Regions from separate parts of the Homo sapiens genome. Here regions 2, 3 and 4 are each linked to region 1. The links are contacts of gene promoters, found by promoter capture Hi-C in blood cells and fetal thymus (Javierre and others, 2016). All regions are on one chromosome and are shown on one strand. The core of a region is centred on a gene start or on the middle of the fragment in contact, and the rest is flanking DNA. Distances in the headings are between cores, read along the strand shown. Region 1 holds the start of HTR3B (5-hydroxytryptamine receptor 3B). Region 2 has its middle 41 kb from the start of NNMT. Region 3 overlaps ZBTB16 (zinc finger and BTB domain containing 16). Region 4 has its middle 11 kb from the start of NNMT.

Evidence for each region. Contacts are between HindIII fragments. The CHiCAGO score rates a contact against its expected background, and 5 or more counts as called.
Region 2: a contact is called between a fragment that was not itself captured here and the fragment with the promoter of HTR3B in region 1, in 1 of 17 cell types (neutrophils). The highest score is 5.5, in neutrophils.
Region 3: a fragment that was not itself captured here is called in contact with the fragment with the promoter of HTR3B in region 1 in 1 of 17 cell types (total B cells); the score reaches 5.8 in total B cells.
Region 4: a fragment that was not itself captured here is called in contact with the fragment with the promoter of HTR3B in region 1 in 4 of 17 cell types (total CD8 T cells, fetal thymus, total CD4 T cells and 1 more); the score reaches 5.9 in total CD8 T cells.

Annotation. Positions count from the first base shown.
Region 1 is chr11:113,900,873-113,906,130 of GRCh38, reverse strand. HTR3B (5-hydroxytryptamine receptor 3B) reads right to left here and starts at 1,335. Exons shown (of 9, transcript NM_006028.5): 1 at 1,146-1,335. The coding sequence starts at 1,197. The HindIII fragment of the contact is 6,317 bases long and covers 1-5,258 here.
Region 2 is chr11:114,335,393-114,340,337 of GRCh38, reverse strand. No RefSeq gene overlaps it. Among named protein-coding and RNA genes, the nearest start is that of NNMT, 41 kb to the right of the region's middle. The HindIII fragment of the contact is 1,332 bases long and covers 2,619-3,950 here.
Region 3 is chr11:114,224,310-114,229,078 of GRCh38, reverse strand. The region is part of intron 4 of ZBTB16 (zinc finger and BTB domain containing 16); the gene reads right to left. Among named protein-coding and RNA genes, the nearest start is that of NNMT, 70 kb to the left of the region's middle. The HindIII fragment of the contact is 1,035 bases long and covers 3,002-4,036 here.
Region 4 is chr11:114,282,316-114,287,530 of GRCh38, reverse strand. It overlaps a transcript of NNMT not described here. Among named protein-coding and RNA genes, the nearest start is that of NNMT, 11 kb to the left of the region's middle. The HindIII fragment of the contact is 853 bases long and covers 1,522-2,374 here.

The DNA.
Region 1 (5,258 bases), core at 86-2,585:
TCTTTCTGCTACATTTAGAACAAAAATCATGCATAATACAAAACATTAGAGAGATATTGTTAAGAACTTAGTCTGTTTTCTTACCTTCATTTTTCTATTTTATCTTAGTTTAATGTTCACGATTATTTTCTACTAAGAAACCCATTTGGCATTTAATGACACTTCCTCTGTTTTTATTTTTTACAATTAAGATATGCTTTTATCCTTTATGTTCAACATCCAGGATTTTTATACTTTAATGATAAGTGGCTATTTTTCTTCTCTACCCAATAAAAAAATCATTTCCAGCTTCCTGGCTACCAAATTTCTAACTCATCTCTATAATTGACTCATTCCACTTCCAGTTACATCCTAAAACTTGAGAATTCAGATATGAGCTCTAGGAGAAACCTCAAGAAAGTGGGGTGTTGAGAACACCAGCATAATCATAAATTCTTGATTTGTGCGCATGTACTAAGAATCAATTGTATCCTAACTAAAATGATTCAATTCAGTAGAGTTAATACTGGTGCCATGGAAATATAGTTCTAGAAATTTAGAAAAAAAAGTATTAACTTCTAAATTACTTTTAAGAGGAATTGTAGACTCAAAACTTACCAGTTTATAGTACCTGTCTTTAGAGATATACTCATCACCTATATAGATTTTGTAAGGCGAGATGTTAAGGCCTCTAATACCAAAATGATATACATATATCTGTAGCCATGACAAATCTAGTGGACTTTTTCTCTGGGCTGCTAACAGCTGATAATGAAGCCAAGACTATTTTGGATAATAAAAACATATTATCCACACATAAAAGCAAATTTGAAAAAGAATGCCCCAAACTCTCAATCAACCTGCAGAGAGCTTGATTTCTAGAGAAGCAGAGATTTATCAAGCAATTATAACATTTCAGAGCATATTTTCAGCTATGTGTAAAAAGCCCCACAGTCTGATGCTATATGTATACGTATTTGCAATCATAGGAGCCAAGTCACAAACAAATCATTGTTTTCCATATAGCTTCACAGGACTGGCATTTTACAGACGATGAATAAAAACAAACATGCCTGAGAAGTCCTACAGTACGGTGTATACAAATATTGTCTCTATCTTCTAAGAGTTAATCCTTAATGCCTAGTAAAATTATTAAAAGGACTCACCTGCAGCCACCAGGATGCAGGCCCACAGGGGAGCCATTACACTTGACAACATTCCTGGGCAGATCCCAAAAAGGAGAAATGCAAACTTGCCTACCAGATGGAATGCCGCTCAATTTCTCCTAACAGGGTTCCTCTCCACTCTGTTCTCCTCCTTCTCCGTTTGCCAGTTGATGCTATCCTTACTGGTGCTATTTTGTAAACACTCAGTGGGACCAAAGGCAATACCAGCACCATGCAAATGTTTTGGAATTGATGCCGTCATGAAATCCCTTAACTTCTCCCTTTGGTTCTGCCCCAAGATCAGACCGTGGCCAACATTTCCATTTTCCTGACAGGAGATAGCTAAGTGAATAATGTAATCTAAGAGGAGCCCCTAAGGAGAGGAAATTCCACACTAATATGATTTCCTTTACAGCCTTTACCTAAGGCAGTACTCTTGCTGACATTCAGGACACTAATTTCATTAATAATTGAAATCCAAATAGCTGTTCTAAATCAGACTTATGCAGTAACATCTTCAGCATTTGACAGTGGTTCTTGGGCTCTTGAATTACACAAGGCTAATGGAAACCTGGTATTGTCTAATGAAGAACAACTGCAAACAATGCAATGGAAAAGTGCTTTTTGTTTTTCCTAAGCCCTTTTAATTAAAAGAAACATTGACTTTTGATAAATAGGAGGGCTTCTCAAATTTTCACTGCTCACAATTCAGAAAGTAACCTTCTAGAAAGGATGCTTCTAGGCTTATTGAAGATGAAAACAAAGTTCAACATCATTTAATAAAAGTTTTTTTTTCACTTTTTGATTGAATACGCATTCATTTTTCATTACTAAGGAACATGATGCATAATTCTATACAATAACACTATTTTCCATTTCTAGACACCCCCAGATGCTCTAGAAAGAAAAAACAAATACCATTTCCAACATCTGCCTGCTTTTTTATTAAAAATGAGATTATAGAGGCAAATTTTGATATAAATTTTCACAGAGCCAACCGAAGGGGGGAAAGTATATATTTGATTCCTATTCTCCTAATCACTCAGTCCCTTTGTTTAGAATCCATGAAGTTCTACACCTAATTTTCATCTACCAATAAAATGTAGCCTAATTGCTTTCTTACTGTTGGTGAAGGGAGTGGTATACACAGAAAGAGAGAAAACTAAGATAACCATTTGGTGTTGACTTGGTTTTGGAGGTATCAGTGTGAACCCATGGTTTTCAGTACATTTGCTAAATATATAAATAATTGCAAATAAGCTGGGCGTGGTGGCTCAAGCCTGTAATCCCAGCACTTTGGGAGGCCGAGGCCAGTGGATCACTTGAGGTTAGGAGTTTGAGACCAGCCTGACCAACATGGTGAGCCCCATCTCTACTGAAACTACAAAAATTAGTCAGGCGTGGTGGCACATGCCTGTAATCCCAGCTACTCGGGAGGCTGAGGCAGGGGAATTGTTTGAATCAGGAGGTGGAGGTTGCCATGAACCAAGATCGCGCCACTGCACTCCAGCCTGGGAGACAGAGGGAGACTCCGCCTCAAAAAAAAAAAAAAAAAAAGAAAAGAAAAGAAATAAATACAAATGTAATGTGTGTTTGCACATGTTCATACATGCATATATTCCCTAGCTCTGTCCACTTAGCAGCCTAGGAGAATGACACCCCAATAGTAACAAGCACACCTAGCTTCCATAGCTCTTCCGGTATAGTCTTGCCAAAAATTCATAACTTGAATCTATTCAGGAGGAAACACCAGATGAGACAGTGGCATACTGTGGGACAAACAAAACAGCAGGCATCTTCAAAAGTGCCAAGGTGGGCCAGGTGCAATGGCTCATACCTGTAATCCCAGTACTTTGGGAGGTTGAAGTAAGAGGACTGCTTGAGCCCAGGAATTTGAGACCAGCCTAAGCTACATAAGGATACCCTGTCTCCACACAAAAAAATAAAAGATTAGTTTAATGTGGTGGTGCACTCCTGTAGTCCCAGCTACTTGGGAGGCTGAGGCAGGAGGATCACTTGAGCTCAGGAGATAGAGTCTGCAGTGAGCTGTGATTGTGCCACTGCACTCCAGCCTGGGCAATAGAGGTAGACCCTGTCTCAAAAACAAAAACACACACACACAAAAGTGCCAAGGTTATAAAAGTTAAGGAAAGACTGAGGAACCTATCAGACTAAAGAGACACAAGCACAATATCTGATTCTGAATTGGATCCTTTTGTTATAAAGAACATTTTGGGAAGAATTGAAACTCGAATGAGGTATGTGGATTAGATGGTAGTAATGTGGCAATGTAGTAATGTTGGTTTCCTGATTTTAATTGTATAGAGATTATGCAAAAGAATGTCCTTGTTTGTAAGACCAGCACACTAAGTATTCAAGAATGAGGGAAGATCGCACACAGTGGCTCACGCCTGTAATCCCAGCACTTTAGGAGACCTAGGTGGGTAGATCACCTGAGATCAGGAGTTCAAGGCCAGCCTGGCCAACATGGTGAAACCCTGTCTCTACTAAAAATACAAAAATTAGCCCGGCACGGTGGCACATGCCTGTAATTCCAGCTACTCAGGAGGCTGAGGCATGAGAATCTTGTGAACCCAGAAGGCAGAGGTTGCACTGAGCCGAGATCACACCACTGCACTTCAGCCTGGGCGACAGAATGAGACTCTGTCTCAGAAAAGAAAAAAAAAACAAAAAACAAAAACAGGGCACATCATGTTGATCATGTCGCTAACTTATTCTCAAATGATTGTGGGGGTCTAGGGGAATTCTTTGTACTATCCATCCAATTCTGCTATACATTTGAAAATATTTCAGAAGAAAGAGTAATTTAAATGTAACTTGGTGGAGGAACTTTGGTACACAGTTATGGAAAGTTTATCTGAGAAATACTCTTTAGAGAGGGTGGGCAGATAAATGGGGCTTCATCAAGAGGGAAGATCATAGAGGACTGATCTGGCCCTCAAAGTCTCAGCTCTTCCTATCAGTTCTTTGAATTGTCAGCTTCTACTTATGGGATGAATTAGGACAAGAGAAAGGCAAGCTACAGGCAATATAGCTATGTAGGTAGCAGTTTTTATGGGAAAGCAATGCAGAAGCATCCCTTTATGCAAAGGTTTAATTGAGGCGATGATCGACATTGCATTCTTGCCATGCATTGTAGTAAGCTATGACTCTAAGTCAAACCTTCTGGGGACGTGCTTCCCTCCCTTTTCTTTGCACTTTCTGATATGCCCATCTGTTACTGGAAGGCCATTACTAATGATGTGTAATACAGGTACATTACAACTTTCATTAGCTAACTTAACAACAGTCTAGTAATCCTGCCCATTATGGCTCTTTATTGGCTGATGAATTCTGTCAAGATGGCAATGATTTTGTATGAGTGACTTGTCTTCAAAGTAGTTTATATACAATGCTTCCTGATCTTTCCTTGACAGCCTTGCTCTGTACTGTCAGCTGGCTTAGATCTTTCTTTTTCTAATCTTAGTGTCCTGTCTGGACTTTGTTTACTCAGTACTTTTAGCTTTTTTTTTTTTTTTCCCTAAGAGGCAGAGTTTCACTCTGTCGCCCAGGCTGGAATGCAGTGGTGTGATCATGGCTCACTGTAGCCTCCATCTCCCAGCCTCAAGCAATCCTCCCATCCCAGCCTCCCATAGCTGGGAGTATATGTGTGTGCCACCACACCTGGCTAATTTCTTCTCTTTTTAGTAGAGATGAGGTGTTGGTATGTTGCCCAGGCTGGTCTTGATCTCCTGAGCTCAAGTGATCCTTCCGCCTTGGCCTCCCCAGTAGCTAGGAATATAGGCATGCACCACTACACCCAGCTCATACTCAGTTCTTTTAGGTTTGGTATTGCTCCTCTCCCCACCCTTCAGTTTTTCACAAAAATGGTCCCTCCTCACTATCTTACATACAGCATTTTTCATCCACTAATATGGTTTGGCTGTATGTCCCCACCCAAATCTCATCTCAAATTTCAATCCGCATGTGTCAGAGGAGGGGCCTGGTGAGAGGTTATTGGATCATGGGGGCAGATTTTCCCCTTGCTGTTCTCATGATAGTGAGTTCTCATGAGACCTGATAGTTTAAAAGTGTGGCGCTTCCCCCTTCTCT
Region 2 (4,945 bases), core at 2,035-4,534, 430 kb before region 1:
TGCTGCCCTTGAGTTGCTGAATCAAGTCTTGACTGAAGCCTGATATCTTTAGGCTTTTCAGGTTTGTAAATCAATAAATTTTCTTTAACGTTCAAGCCAGTTTGAGTGACATTTTTGGTAGTTGCAGATTTCCAATTAACATGCACTGTAACACATAAGCATATTAGTTTAGAGAGGCCACAGTTTCCCCTAACCATGCTAGAGTTTTCTGATAATGGCCAGAGTACAAAGTCAGATTTTCCTGTGTCAGCCTCATGGAAGGGAAGAAAAAACCAAGTTTAAAAAAACTAAAAGGCCTTTGATGTCATTCCCCCAACACACACATATCCAAAGAAAAAAGTAAGGGGTCAAATATATAATATCATGTTCAAAATAAATTACTGTTATTATTGTTATTACTTTGTAAGTAGATTTTATTTTTTAGACAGTTTTAGGTTCACAGAAAAATTGAGTGGAAGTTTCTGAGACTTCCCATACACCCTCTGCTCCCCATATGCAAGGCATCCGCCATTATCAACATCCCCCACCAGAGTGGTGCATTTGCTATCATTGCTGGACCTACATTGACACTCACCATCAGTCATTATCACTCAGCGTCCAAAGCTTACCTTAGGGTTTATGCTTGGTATTGTACATTTTATGGGTTTAAACAAATGTATAATGACATGTATCCACCATTATAGAATCATACAGAGTATTTTTACTGCCCTAAAAATCATCTGTGCTCCACCTGTTCATTCCTTCTTCCTCCCAACCCCTAGCAAGCATGGATCTTTTTACTGTCTTACTGTCTTCCAAAGTGTCTATAGCATTTTGCATTTCCACCAGCAATAAAGGAGAGTTCCTGTCGCTTCACAGCCTCACCAGCATTTGGTGTTTTCAATGTTCTGAATTTTGGCCACTCTGATAGGTGTGTAGTGGTATCTCATTGTTGTTTTAATTTGCATCTCTCTGATGACATATGATGTGGGGCATCTTTTTATGTGTTTATTTGCCATTACATGTCTTCTTTGGGGAGGTATTTGTTAAGTTCTTTGGCCCATTTTTTAATTGGGTTCTCTGTCTTCTTATTGTTGAGTTTCAAGAGTTCTTTGCATATTTTGGGTACCAGTCCTTTGTCAGGTGTGTTTTTAACAAATATCTTCTCTCTCTCTCAGTCTGCAGCTTGTCTTTTCATTTTCTTGACAGTGTCTTTGGCAGAGCAGAAATCTTTAATTTTAAAGAAGTCCAGCATATCAGTTCTTTTTTTCATGTATTGTGGTTTCGGTATTATATCTAAAAAGTCATTGACAAACCCAAGGGCATCTAGATTTTCTCCTATGTTATCTTCTAGTTTTACAGTTTGATATTTTGGTCTGTGGGGTATTTTGAATTAATTTTTGTGATGGGTGGAAAGTCTGTGTCGAGATTCACTTCTCTGCATGTGAATGTTCAGTTGTTCCAGCACCACTTATTGTAAAGCCTATCTTGTCTCCATTGTATTGCCTTTGCCCCCTTTTCAAAGATTAGTTGATTGTGTTTATGTAGGTCTATTTCTGGGCTTTCTATTCTATCCTATTGATCCTCTGCCAGTTTTTTCACCAATACCACACCGTCTTTATCACTGTGGCTTTAGGGTAGTTATAGTAATATCATAAGTCTTGATGTCAGTCCTCCAATTTTGTTCTTTTCTTTCAATCTTGTGGTGGTTATTGACTGTCTTTTGACTCTTCATATAAACATTGGAATCAGATTATTGATAGCCACAAAATATCTTACTAGGATTTTGATTTTGATTGCATTGAATCTATAGATCAAGTTGTGAAGAACTAATATCTTGACTAATACTGAGTTTTTCTATCTATGAACATGGAATATTTCTCTATTTATTTAGTTTTTCATTGGTTTCTTTCATCAGTTTTATGGCCTTCCTTATATAGACCATGTACAGGTTTTGTTAGATTTATACCCAAGTATTTTATTTTGAGGCACTGTTAATATAAATGACAATTTCTTTTTAATATCAAATTCCACTTGTTCATTGTTGCTATGCAGAAAAATGATTGACTTTTGTATATTAACCTTGCATCCTGAAACCTTGTTATAATTGTTTATTAGTTCCAGGAGCTTTTTTTCTTGATTTTTCAGATTTTCTTTCTTTTTTTATTTTGAGATGGAGTCTCGCTCTGTCGTCCAGGCTGGAGTGCAGTGGTGTGATCTCGGCTCACTGCAACCTCCGCCTCCTGGGTTCAAGCAATTCTCCTGCCTCAGCCTCTTGAGTAGCTGGGATTACAGGCACACGCCACCACACCTGGCTAATTTTTGTATTTTTAGTAGAGATGGGGTTTCACCATGTTGGTAAGGCTGGCCTTGAACTCCTGACCTTGTGATCCACCCGCCTCGGCCTCCCAAAGTGCTGGGATTACAGGCGTGAGCTACCACACCTGGCCTGATTCTTTCAGATTTTCTTTTAGACAATCATGTCTTTTGTGAACAAGATAGTTTTATTTCTTCCTTCTCAGTCAGTATACATTTTCTTTACTTATCTCATTGCATTAGCTAGGATTTCTAGCATAATGTTGAAAAGCTGTGGTGAGAGAGTATGTGTTTGCCTTGTTCCTGATCTTAATGAGAAAGCTTCTAATTTCTCACCATTAAATATGACGTTATCTGTATATTTTTTGTAGATATTCTTTATCAAGTTGAGGAAGTTCCCCCTCTATTTCTCATTTACTGAGGAGTTTTTTTTTTCTTTTTCTTTTTCTTTTATCATGAGCAAGTGTTAGATTTTGTCAAAGGTTTTTTCTACATCTATTGATGTAATCATCTGTATTTTGTTCTTTAGCCTGTTGATATGATGGATAGCCTTAATTAGTTGTCAAATGTTGAAACAGCCTTTCATTCCTGGGATAAATCCCCCTTGGTGTGGCACACAATTCTTTTTATACTTTGATGGATTCAATTTGTTAACATTTTGTTGAGAATTTTTGCATCTATGTTCATGAGAGATACTGAACTGTGGATTTTTTTTTTTTTTTTTTGGAGACAGAGTCTCTCTGGAGTACAGTGACGTGATCTTGGCTCACTGCAATCTCTGCCTCCCAGGTTCAAGCGATTCTCCTGTCTCAGCCTCCTGAGTAGTAGCTGGGATCACAGGCATGCACCACCACACCCGGCTAATTTTTGTATTTTTAGTAGAGACAGGGTTTTGCCATATTGGCCAGGCTGGTCTCGAACTCCTGACCTCAGGTGATCCTCCCGCTTCGGCCTCCCAAAGTGCTGGGATTACAGGCGTGAGCCACTGCACCCAGCCAAGATATATTGAACTGCGGATTTATTTTCTTCCAATGTGTTTGCCTGGTTTTGGTATGAAGGTGATGTTGACTTCATAGAATGAGTTAGGAAGTATTCCTTGTGCTTCTATCTTTGAAAGAGGTTGTAGAAAATCGGTGTGCTTTTTTCCTTAAACGTTTGGTAGAATTCACCAGCGAACCCATTTTGACCTGATGCTTTCTGCTTTAGGAGGCTATTAATTATTGATTCATTTTCAGTTGAATAGATATACCCTTATTCAGTGTGTATTACTTCTTATGTGAGTTTTGGCAGATTGCGTCTTTCAAGAAATTGGTCTATTTTAGCTAGGTTATCAAATTTGTAAGCATAAAGTTGTTCACAGTATTCCTTTATTATCCTTTTAATGTACATGACTTTTGTAATGATGTCCCCTCTTTCATCTCTGATATTACTAATTTATGTTCTTCCTCTCTCTCTTTTTTCTAAGTTAGCCTGGCTATGGGCTTATTAATTTTATTGATCTTTTCAAAGAACCAGCTTTTGGTTTTATTGATTTTTCTCTGTTAATTTTCTGTTTCAATTTCATTGATTTCTGCTCTAATTTTTATTGTTTCTCTTCTTCTGTTCAGTATAGATTTAGTTCGCTCTTGTTTTTCCAGTTTCCGAAGATGAAAGCTTAGGTGATTTCTTTTAAATCTTTCCTATTTTCTAATATATGCACTCCATGCTATCAATTTCCCCCTTAGCACTACTTTTATTGCACTGCACAGTTTTTGATAACTTGTGTTATTTTCATTTAGTTCAAAGTACTTTTTAATTTCTCCTGAGATTTCTGCTTTGACCCTTGTATTATTTAGACACATGTTGTATTTGTATCTCCAAGTATTGGGGGATTTTTCAGCTATCCTTCTATTATAAATTTCTAGTTTAATTCCATTGTGGTCTGAGAGCAGACACTACGATTTCTACTTTTTTTTTACATTTGTTAAGGTATATGAAGTGGTCTAGAATGTGGTCTATCTTGATGAATATTCCATGTGAGCTTGAGAAGAATGTACAGTGAATTCTGCTATTGCTGGATGAACTAGTTTATAGCTGTCCATTATTTACAGTTTATAGATGATGTTTTTGAATTTGATTATGTTCTTAATGATTTTCTGCCTGCTGAATCTGTCCATTTCTGATAGAGGGATGTTGAACTCTCCCACTATACTAGTGGACTCATCTATTTCTCCTCACAGTTCTATCAGTTTTTGCTTCATGTATTTTGATGCTGTGTTATTAGGTGCACACACATTAAGGATTGCTATGTCTTCTTAGAGAACTGACCCCTTTATCATTCGGCAATGCTCCTCTTTATCCCTAATAACTTTACTTGCTGTGAAGTGTTCTGTGTCTGAAATTGTTCTAGTTTCTTCCACTTTCTTTTGATTAGTTTTAGCATAGTATACCTTTCTCCATCCATTTACTTTCAATTGATATGAGTCTTTATATTTAAAGGAGGTTTCTTATAGACAACCTGTAACTGAGTCTTGTTTCTTGATCCATTCTAACATTCTCTGTCTTTTAATTGTTGTGCTTAAGACCACTCATATTCAAAGTGATTATTGATATAATTGGGTTAATATCTATCATATTTGTTACTGTTTTTGTTACCCTTGTTCTTCGTTTC
Region 3 (4,769 bases), core at 2,270-4,769, 320 kb before region 1:
TGACTTCACTTCCACAGTTTTCTGTGTGAGTGTGTGTGTGGGTGTTACTGAAAGACTCCTTACTCACCCCGACTCTGCAGGGCTCCCCGACTCCCCACAACCTGCTACTCTCTGGGCTGGCTATGGGGGATGGGGCGCCAGGGAAGGGGAGGGACAGCTGACACCAGGGCGCCCGCCAGGCCTGCATTCACACCAGGAAGATACTGTACTAGGGAAAATGTGTCCACAAAGGACCATATGGCTCCCTTCTGCATTGAGCCCTTGGACAAGAGGGTGGAAGGGGGCGGGGGAAGCTGCCAGAAGGCACACTTCTAGGGGGCACCGGCCCCGCCCACCTCAGACAGCAGGCTGGCGGCCTGGGGAGAGTGGGGGCACCTTTTCCCCTTGGCTGGGCTCCTGTGATGCCCTGCAAAGGGACTGCTTCACTCACGACATCCTACGTATCAACACGCTCCCAGCCCCGTGCACTGTGCACTGCCCCTCTAGGCAGAAAAGGGGAGTGAGCTCAGGTCTAGGCACGGCTTCTTAACCTGGAGTCCACGGAACCCCTAAGCTGTCCAGGGACAGAATTCAGGAGATTGGTGAACTCAGAGAGGGGAAAAAAGTGACATCTTTATTTTCACCAACCTCCAACTGAAATTCAGTGGCTCCTTCCATTAGGAATATAAGCAACCAGCAAGTCATATGGGCAGTACTGGTAACTACTTGGTCACCGGTAGACTTTACAGGTATTTTCACACTGCACTAGAAATGTTGCAGTCATCTCAAAATATCATCTATGCAAGCCACTCCCGCAAAAATATGGTAGTTATTCAATTACAGCCTGATGTTATTGGTTAATGGGATAACAAAGAATCACACATATTTCTATATTACAAATGGTTTTTAAAAAATATTTTGATATTTGTATTTCAAGTTTCCATGACAATCCTATGTATTTTACTTTCTGCATTTAGAGACCTGATTCTGAGGAAGAGTTCAGGGGTTTCGCCAGACTGCCCAGGGAGCCAATGGCACAAAAAAGTTAAGAATCCCTGTCTAGGAGTCAGGGAAGGAATGGGGAGTTGGTGTTTAATGGGTACGGAGTTTCTGTTTTACGGGATGATAAGAGTTCTGGAGATACAGTGTGTGTTGATGGTTGCATGACAATGCTAATGTATTTAATGCCACTGAATTGTCCTCTTAAAATGGTTAAAAATGCAAATTTTGCATTACATATAATTTACCAAAATTAAAAAATTAAAAACCAATCCTGGTCTGAAACTACCTGTACCCTTCTGCCGCCCAGAAGTATCTAGTCCAAACTGGTATTTATTCCCTCAAACTTCTCCATCTGCAATGGAGAGCCAAACTAAATGCTTGGCCTCCCAGGAAGCAGGGAGTATGGGGCCTTGCAAAGGACACTACAGGAGGCCCAGCCTTAGTCTTCAGCTGTGACACCCACAAGACTTAGAGACTTGCTTTAAGTTCAAGGTTTACTGTCTTCCCCACCTGTCAGAATGAAAGCTGCATGAGAGCTGCGACCTCACTTCTCTTATACAGCACTCTATCTCTTGGTTCTGACAGGTGTTCAATGAATATTTATTGGATGGAGAGAAGGACGAATAGATGGATAAAGGATTGCACAAATGAATTTGATTTCTCTGGACTTCAACTCTTCTGTAACATGAGGGGGGATAGGCTTTGTGATCCTGTGAAGCTCCTATTGTTCTAAGGGGCTCCGTCAGCATGACATCCTCCCCTGTCTGCTGACCACACCTTCCCCCAGCACATGGGGCCCAGGAGGTGGATGGTGGGGGTGTGCATGGTGCACACAGGTGGGGGATACCTGATGTGCAATACTGGGGGTGATGGGCCACTGTCTTCCTGGGCCCCAGGACTTTCCTGCAGACCTCAGGGACAGCGCTGCTCCGGCTGCTGCACAAAGCAGTATCGCCTTGCTGCAGTCCTGCTGGAGTCCACTGGGCTCACCAGGCCACCTTCCCTGCCACAACAGGCTGGTGGTGATGGTGGTGGACAGGGGACAGTAAATTTATAGGCTTACTGAATAGGCAAGCAATGAGAGGGAGTCCGTAGGCCTGAGGGAGAGGCTTTTAGGCAACGTCAGGCTGCACGCAAGGGATTTTAAAGCCTGGAAGGAAGATACTGTCCTTCTTGCTATTTGGGGAGGGAGAGAGAGGAATATGATATGATAAAGAAAAATAGTAAAATAAAAGAGCACATTGCCCACTAGCATTTCCCATTACCCCCACATCTGGAACTACCCTCCTTTCAAGTAGGTTGCTCTCCTGATTCTATAAATCAGTTTCAGGGAAGGAAGACGAGTGTCTGGTAGGCATCTGGCTGGAGTTCAAGGTCATGTCAGGTGGTGTGCATGCTCCTCATGGGCAGCGTGGTCCCTCCCAACACTCTCACACATTCAGACACGCCAACCCTGGGCACTCTGAAGGAGGGTCTGGAGAGAAACCCCAGCCTCAGATGCCGACACTAAAAGGAAACGTGAAGTAGAATGTCACTTCGTGGTTTGGGGTTCTCTCCTCCCATGTGGGTTTTGTTTCTTAGGTACCTCCCCTTTCAGCTCCTCCTCTGGAGTTTTTGGGCCACTGCCTGACAGCTCTGGAGCCTGGGGTTGATGCTGGGGCAGATGGAGGCCTTAGGGCTGACTCTCTCAGGCCAACCACAGGCTGTCCAGCACCCTGGTTAGAAACAGTAGTGAAGAGAGACACCTCTGTTCTAGCTACCCAACACCAGCATCGCTTGATGGCCAAATCTTTCTGCTCTTCCTTTCTTCTGTCCAGTGCTCTTCATTTCTCTCTTTGGGTGGTGGTGCTTTATTTCCCCTGGGGAACAGCATTAGAGAGTTACTTTATGTACCCCTCACTCAGTTACTCACTTACTGACTCACTCATGCACCTCAAATTTCTTGAGTCCCAATTCTGTATAGGAATCAAACCCTGAGGCTACACAATGATAAGAAAATACTTCTTGGCCCCAAGAAGCTTACAGTCTGAGAAGTACAAAGCAAAGAGCCTCGGTGTTGAAGTCAGACCACACCTGGGTTCAAATTCTGACTCTTCCATTTATTTACTAACTACATAATCATATGCAAATCACTTAGTATCTCTGGGTCTTAGTTTCCTTTCTGTATTAGAGTTATAGTACCCACCATGCAAGGTTGCTGGGCAGATTAGAGATAATATATGAACAATGTCTATCACAGTGTCACATGATTAGGGGATGGAGAAACAGTAGCTGCTTAGAACACTGATCCAGTGGCTGGGTGAAGAAGGGTGTGGGGTACAGATATTTAAATCAGTGGGCTGTGGTGTTTTAACTTAGGTACTTCTATGGTTTAAATGTGTCCCCCAAAGTTCCTGTGTTGAAAACTTGATCTTAATGCAGCAGTGTTGGGAGGTGGGGCCTCTTGGGAGGTGTTTGGGTCATGGGGGCTGTGCCCTCACGCGTGGATTAATGTCGTTCTCAAGGGAGTGGGTTCCTTAGGAAAAAATGAATCTAGTCCCCTCTTGTGCTCTGCTCTCTCTTGCCCTCTCGCCTTCCACCATGGAGTGGTGCAGCAAGAAGGCCCTTGTAAGACGCTGGCACCCTGATCTTGGACTTAGCCTTCAAAACTGTGAACCAAATACATTTTTGTTCTGTATACATTACCCACTCTCAGGCATTCTGCTACAGCAGCACAAAACAGACTAAGACAGGTACCATGAGCTGCACTTAGGCCCCCTCTAGGAGGTGCTTATAGAGAACACTCTATGTCTTTCATCACCAAGAAGAGCTCTATCTCTACAGTGTTATATTCAAACCTCATTCCCACCTTTTAAATTCTCCCATCCAGTTACTCCCACCAAACCCATTATTTGATCTTCAAAAATCTCCCTAGAATGCCTTTCCTTTCCTTACTTCTTTCATATTCGGCCCACACTTCAAGGCCCGTCGTCCAACTCCCCACTGACTTCTGGCCAATTCCTGAACTCCCCTGCCTGGGATCCTTCAATTTCACCAGCCTGCTGTACCCTAAGCTTGGATCGGTCTAACTAACCACCTCCTCCACTCCTAGAGCTGCCTACCCACGTTGCCTCTACCTCCCAATTGCTCACTAACTCCTCAACCCACTGTAATCCCACTCCTGCTTCTATCATTCCACTGACACCAAAACTGTTTGCCTTTGATATCCAGCGACTCCCATGTCACTAAGAGCAACAGACATTTTTTAGTCTGCCTCTTAGGGGACTTCTCAGCACCATCTAAAACTGACTGCTTTTTTCTTTTTGAAACCTCTTCCTTTAGCTTCCATGACACCACACTCTTCTGGTGTCCCTCCTATTTCTTCCAGCAACTCCTCGATCTCCATCGTGGATTGGGATTGTTCTGGAGGGGTGGAATATGTTGGGGTTCCTCTGGATTCTATTCCAAGCTCTCTTCTCTTTCTATACTCTCTTGTTATATAAACTCACCCAGTTCCAAGGGCTTCAATGATCATTTATATGTTGATGACAACTCCAAAATGGACATATCCAGTGGGTCTCTCTCTTCTGAATTCCAGATACGTCTGTATACCCACATGCCTCCTAGGCACACCCTACCTTTGGATGTCATGCACACCCTGCTACTGTATATGAAAACTGTTCAGTATCCTAACGATAACAATAAAAAAAGCTCTTTTTTCTTGTATTCTTCATTTCAGTAAAGAACTCCACTATCACTCAGTTGCCCAAGCAAGAAAAGTGGGCATTATCCTAGATTCCTCTCTCACC
Region 4 (5,215 bases), core at 699-3,198, 380 kb before region 1:
GAGGTGATAGCTTAGATCAGTGGGGAAAAAGATAGACCTTTCAATAAATAGTGCTAAGATAATTGGGTATCTGTAGGGAGGAATAAGGAATTAGAACCCCACCTCACATTATGCACAAAAAACAATTCAGGCAGATTAAAAAACTAAATATGAAGGGCAAAACTCTAAAGATTTAGAAGGTAATGTAGAAGAATATCTTTATGACCTTGGGTGCAGATAACGATTTCTTAAACCAGACACAAAAGCCATGAATCATGAATAAAAGATTTGTAAATGCTAGTATATTACAATTAAGAATGTCTGTTCGACCAAAGACACTTTAAGAGAGTGAAGAGACACTCTACAGAGAGGGAAAAGATACTACAACACATGAAACTGACAAGCAAGAATTTATGAATTCTGACAACAGAATTTACAAAGAACTTCTGTGAATCAATATGAAAATAAAGAAAACAAAAAACTTGAACAGACCCTTTCTGAGAAAGGAAATCCAAGTGACCAATAAACCTAGGAAAAGATCCTTAATCTCATCAGTGGAATGCAAATTAAACCACAATGAGATACAATTATGCAGCCATCAAACTGGCAAAAATCACATCTGACCAGCACCAAAGGCCTTGACCAATAGATGTCCTTGTGTATTTCTAGCAGGCATGTAACTTGGTGCAGCGTTATGGAAAACAGTCTGGCATTGACTGGTAGAGTTGAGTTGCTGCGTACCCTATGCCCAGTAATTACAGTCCAGGTACACACCTAGAGAAAAATCTGGCACATAAACATGAATGTTCTTAGCAGCATTGTTTGGAACAGCCCCCAACTAGAAACAACCTAAAAGTCCAACAATGGTAGAATAAATTGGAGTGTACAGCAATGAAAATGAACCAATTAGAACTACAAGCATCAGCATGGATGATTCTCCAAATGATGTAGGGCGAAAGAAGAAAGTCCCAAGAAAGACTTCCTTTTTATTCAATCTATAAAGTCCAAAAGTCCAAAACAAACAAAAGTAAATTTTATTATTTAGTGATGCACAAGTGGGTGGGAAAACTAAAGAAAAACAATGAGATAATTTCATTAGATGCCAGGATAGTGGTTGCCTGTGGGTGACTGGGGAGGACAAAGTTGTGCTCAGGTTACAGAACACAGGGGGAAGAGGGTGCTTCAAAAATCCTGCAATGCTAACCAGTGCTCATGCATTTTATATTAACCTTTATGCTCTATGTAAATGTTCTATGAACTTTTCTGTAGATGCATCTCACAATTTAAAAAACATCCTGCATATCCAGACGCAGAGTCCCTCGAAACAAGCACAAATTTAGAGATCAAGTCTACTTGATAATATTGGTCTTCCCAAGTTTCCTCTCTGAGGCAGGACCTAGTGTTTCTTTTTCACTCAATTTTACCCAGTGGGGCTAAATGGTACTCAATGGTACTAAAGGATAAACAACGATCTCTGCAAAAATGGGGCAAGGATGGAGGAGAACATTACAGAAACTGCAGCTGAAGCTTTCCTTCCAAGCTTTTCTTTCCAATGCTGGAAGAAGTCCTTCTGTGCCTCAGATGACATCAAGGCCTACTGTAGATCAGAGGGCCCCAGGATGCTTCAGAGATGACACAGACTTCTGTAGGCAGTGATCTCTCATTTGACACTCCTTGCCTTCTGCTTATCTCCAAGAAAGAAATGTACCCCTGGGTACGCCACAGCAATTAGGAGCCTGCTCCCTTCACCTCTTCCTGCTGCAATTGTGGGTGGGGTATTCACATATGTTGCAGAGAAGCAACTACTGAGCCTCTTCCTCTTTCTCTGCTCAAACCATACCTTGTGGCAGGCGTGAGTCGCCAGGAAAGAATTCCAAGGCAGAGCCAAATTAAGCAACTCCTGGAGTAAGAGGCATCAGTAATTTGGGAGCATTTCATGTGCTTGGTAATTAATAACAAATAAACAAAATTATCACCAAAACTATAACCCATCAAATTTGATGTGCTCCCGCAGGGCCTGCTCTAGATTTTAGTGGATGCATATGGTGAGTCCAGAGCTGATTAATATGAGCCTTAATTGCAGGGAGGTAGAGAACCCTTTCTTGGAGTCCACAACCTGTCAGCTTCTCTCTTTTGTCACTCTTAAGTCATGGCTACCTTTGGGGTAAAAATGAGGCTGCAGACCATAAGGGCGTCACTGTATGTACGCAGAGGGCTGCCTTCTGCCTGGTTCTCACAGTGTGCCCTCTCGTAGAGCTTTGGGTTGAAAATCCATAGCCACAAAGACACTGATTCAGCCAGAAACTCTAGTTATCTAATTATCTGGTTATCAATACTCCAGCGTCTCAAATATTTTCACTGGCTTCTAAATCCATTGTTCAGGTTACAGAAAGCTTTGAGAAGGATGCCAAGGAGGGAGGGAGAGGAAGGGTGTAAGGTGGCAAGCTTCTTGGCTAAAGGAAGAAGAAGCGTGATGGGAGAAAAGACATGTTGGGGCCAGGCACAGTCGCTCACACCTGTAATCCCAGCACTTTTGGAGGTTGAGGTGGGCGGATCAGGAGTTCAAGACCAGCCTCGCCAACATGATGAAACTGTCTCTACTGAAAATACAAAAATTAGCCCGTCATGGTGGTATGCACCTGTAATCCCAGCTACTTGGGAGGCTGAGGCAGGAGAATCACTTGAACCCAGAAGGTGGAGGTTGCAGTTAGCAGAGACTACACCACTGCACCCCAGCCTGGGTGACAGAGCAATACTCTGCTCAAAAAAAAAAAAAAAAAAAAAAAAGATGGCCGGGTGCAGTGGCTCACGCCTGTCATCTCAGCACTTTGGGAGGCCAAGGTGGGCATATCACAAGGTCAGGAGATCGAGACCATCCTGGCTAACACGGTGAAACCCCGTCTCTACTAAAAATACAAAAATCAGTCGGGTGTGGTGGCACATGCCTGTAGTCCCAGCTACTTGGGAGGCTGAGGCAGGAGAATTGCTTGAACCCAGGAGGCGGAGGTTGCAGTGAGCCAAGATAGCACCACTGCACTCCAGCCTGGACAAGACTCCATCTCAAGAAAAACAACAGCAACAAAAAACAAAAACAAACAAACAAAAAAAACCATGTTGGGGTGAAGGTGGTTGAGGACTACTTGGAAAGGAAAGCAATTCCTGAGCCTCAGCCAGGACCAGTTTCCATAGTCCAGCCACGAGGTGTCCAGGCCTGACCTACCCCTCCTATACAGTTTGTAAATTGCAGGCAGATGGCATCCAGGGTGATAGGGCCTTTGGCAGAGCCAGGTACCAGCAGTGTTGCTGTGGCAGGTGGCCAGCTTGCTGGAGATCCACATCTGCCTGGCACAGAGAGGCTGGAAATCAGGGTGGAGCCTCCCTAATATCCTGCTGGCAAAAGCTGAAAACCTGAGTGGCTTCTGTGCTATCTGCACTATTTTGCTTTGTTTCCTTTCCTCCTCGGCTTGTTGCTCCTTTGTCACATGCTTACTTACAAAACTTACTGGGACCTGATTTAGGGCTATCTGCTCTGTTCCATTGATTTTTCTTTGCTTCCTACTAATTACTGTAACGGTACGATACCTATTTAGGACATCTGTCCTATCACTACTAATGCTATACAAATATCAAGATTATGAAGTTCACTCTTCTCCCTCTGTTTATTACCTATGTAAAAAGCAAATCGTTTTATGTTCAGGGTAAAAGATGTTAGGACTAAGATTGGATCTTGTAATTCTCTTCTTCCTTTATTGTTTTGTTTAGTTTAGTTTTTGAAAAAGCATGAGGTCAGGTGGTTAAAAGAAAATGCTTATTAAATTGAAAAAAAAGCAACAAAGGCAGAATATAAGCTTTTTTAAAAATTGAGGATAGACGTAATAACCTCATGGAAATAAGATTCTGTAAAGAAAACTAAGCCTCGGAAGTAAAACAGCTGTGATTGTCAGTCTTCAATCTCTTGTCAAAAAGCTTTCGGAATGAACTGAGAATCTGTACAGTGGAAGGAAATTCACTCATATGATTATATTTTCTTCCTCCCCTTTTATTTTCCACTCTCATTTCCCTTTCATAGACAACCATCCCAAGGTGTTTGATGTCTATTCTTTATGTGCATTTTGGTAAAATGTGTGCTGCTGCTGTGTATGCATATATTTGTATTTGCATCATTTTCACTATGCATTAAAGCCCTATCACATTACGTGTGTATGTGACCCACTGCTTCATGCCACTGCATCGTTCTTCATGATTTGCACCCCTCATTTATTTATCCACACCCCCAGGAGCAGATACCCAGATTGTTTCCAACTCCCCAACACAATGATTCCAGAGACATCCATGTCTCCTTCATATAGAGACCTGTGTGAGAATTCCTATGGGGGGCATTCCCAGTAGTAGAACTGGTGAATCCTAAGGTATCCACATATTTAATTTGAGTAAGAACCACCAGATTGCCCCCAGCAAGGCTATACCAGTCTACACCCCCATCAGCAGTGCATGAGGTTCCCTGTATCGGCACACCCACTCCCATCCCTACCATCAATTTTTAGAATGATCTGCTATACTAATTTTTGCTAGTCTAATGAGAATAAGTGAAGTTGTACACTTTCTCTGATGAGTTTGAGCACTTCTAAACATGCATATCAGTATCAGTGAGATAAGCTAAGTGATGTAACAGACCTCAAACCTCAGTGGCTTAACAAAATAAATGTTTGTTTTCACATCACAGACCATGATGGCAGGCAAGGGAAGGGTACTCCCCCAGTGGTCCTTTCGGCACTCAGACTTCTTCCATTGTGTGGCTCTAAGGCCCCAGAGCCTTCCATTGGATTCTCTTCATCTAGCCCTCAGAGGAGGGGAGAGAGCTCTCGGAGGAGATTGGAATGCGAGGGTTTTGAGGACACAGCCTAAGTAGTGCCATACATTAATCTGTTAATATTCTTTGGGTCAGAATTCCATCACATGGCCTGAGGCAAGGGGGCTGTGAAATACAGCCTGGATGTGTGCTGAAAAAAGGACATGCAAATTGGGGAGGAGTTAGACAATCTCTGTCACAAAATGCTTGCTAGCTTTTGGAGTTTCCTCTTCTATACATTTCCTGGTCATATTCTTGCTCCTTTTTGTCTTTAGACTTTTTCCTATTGTTGATTTGCAGTAGTTCCTTGTATATTCTAGAAAATATCTGTCCCCTGTTGGTTTTATTCACTGTAAATATTTCTTCCAGTCTGTCCACCTGATCACT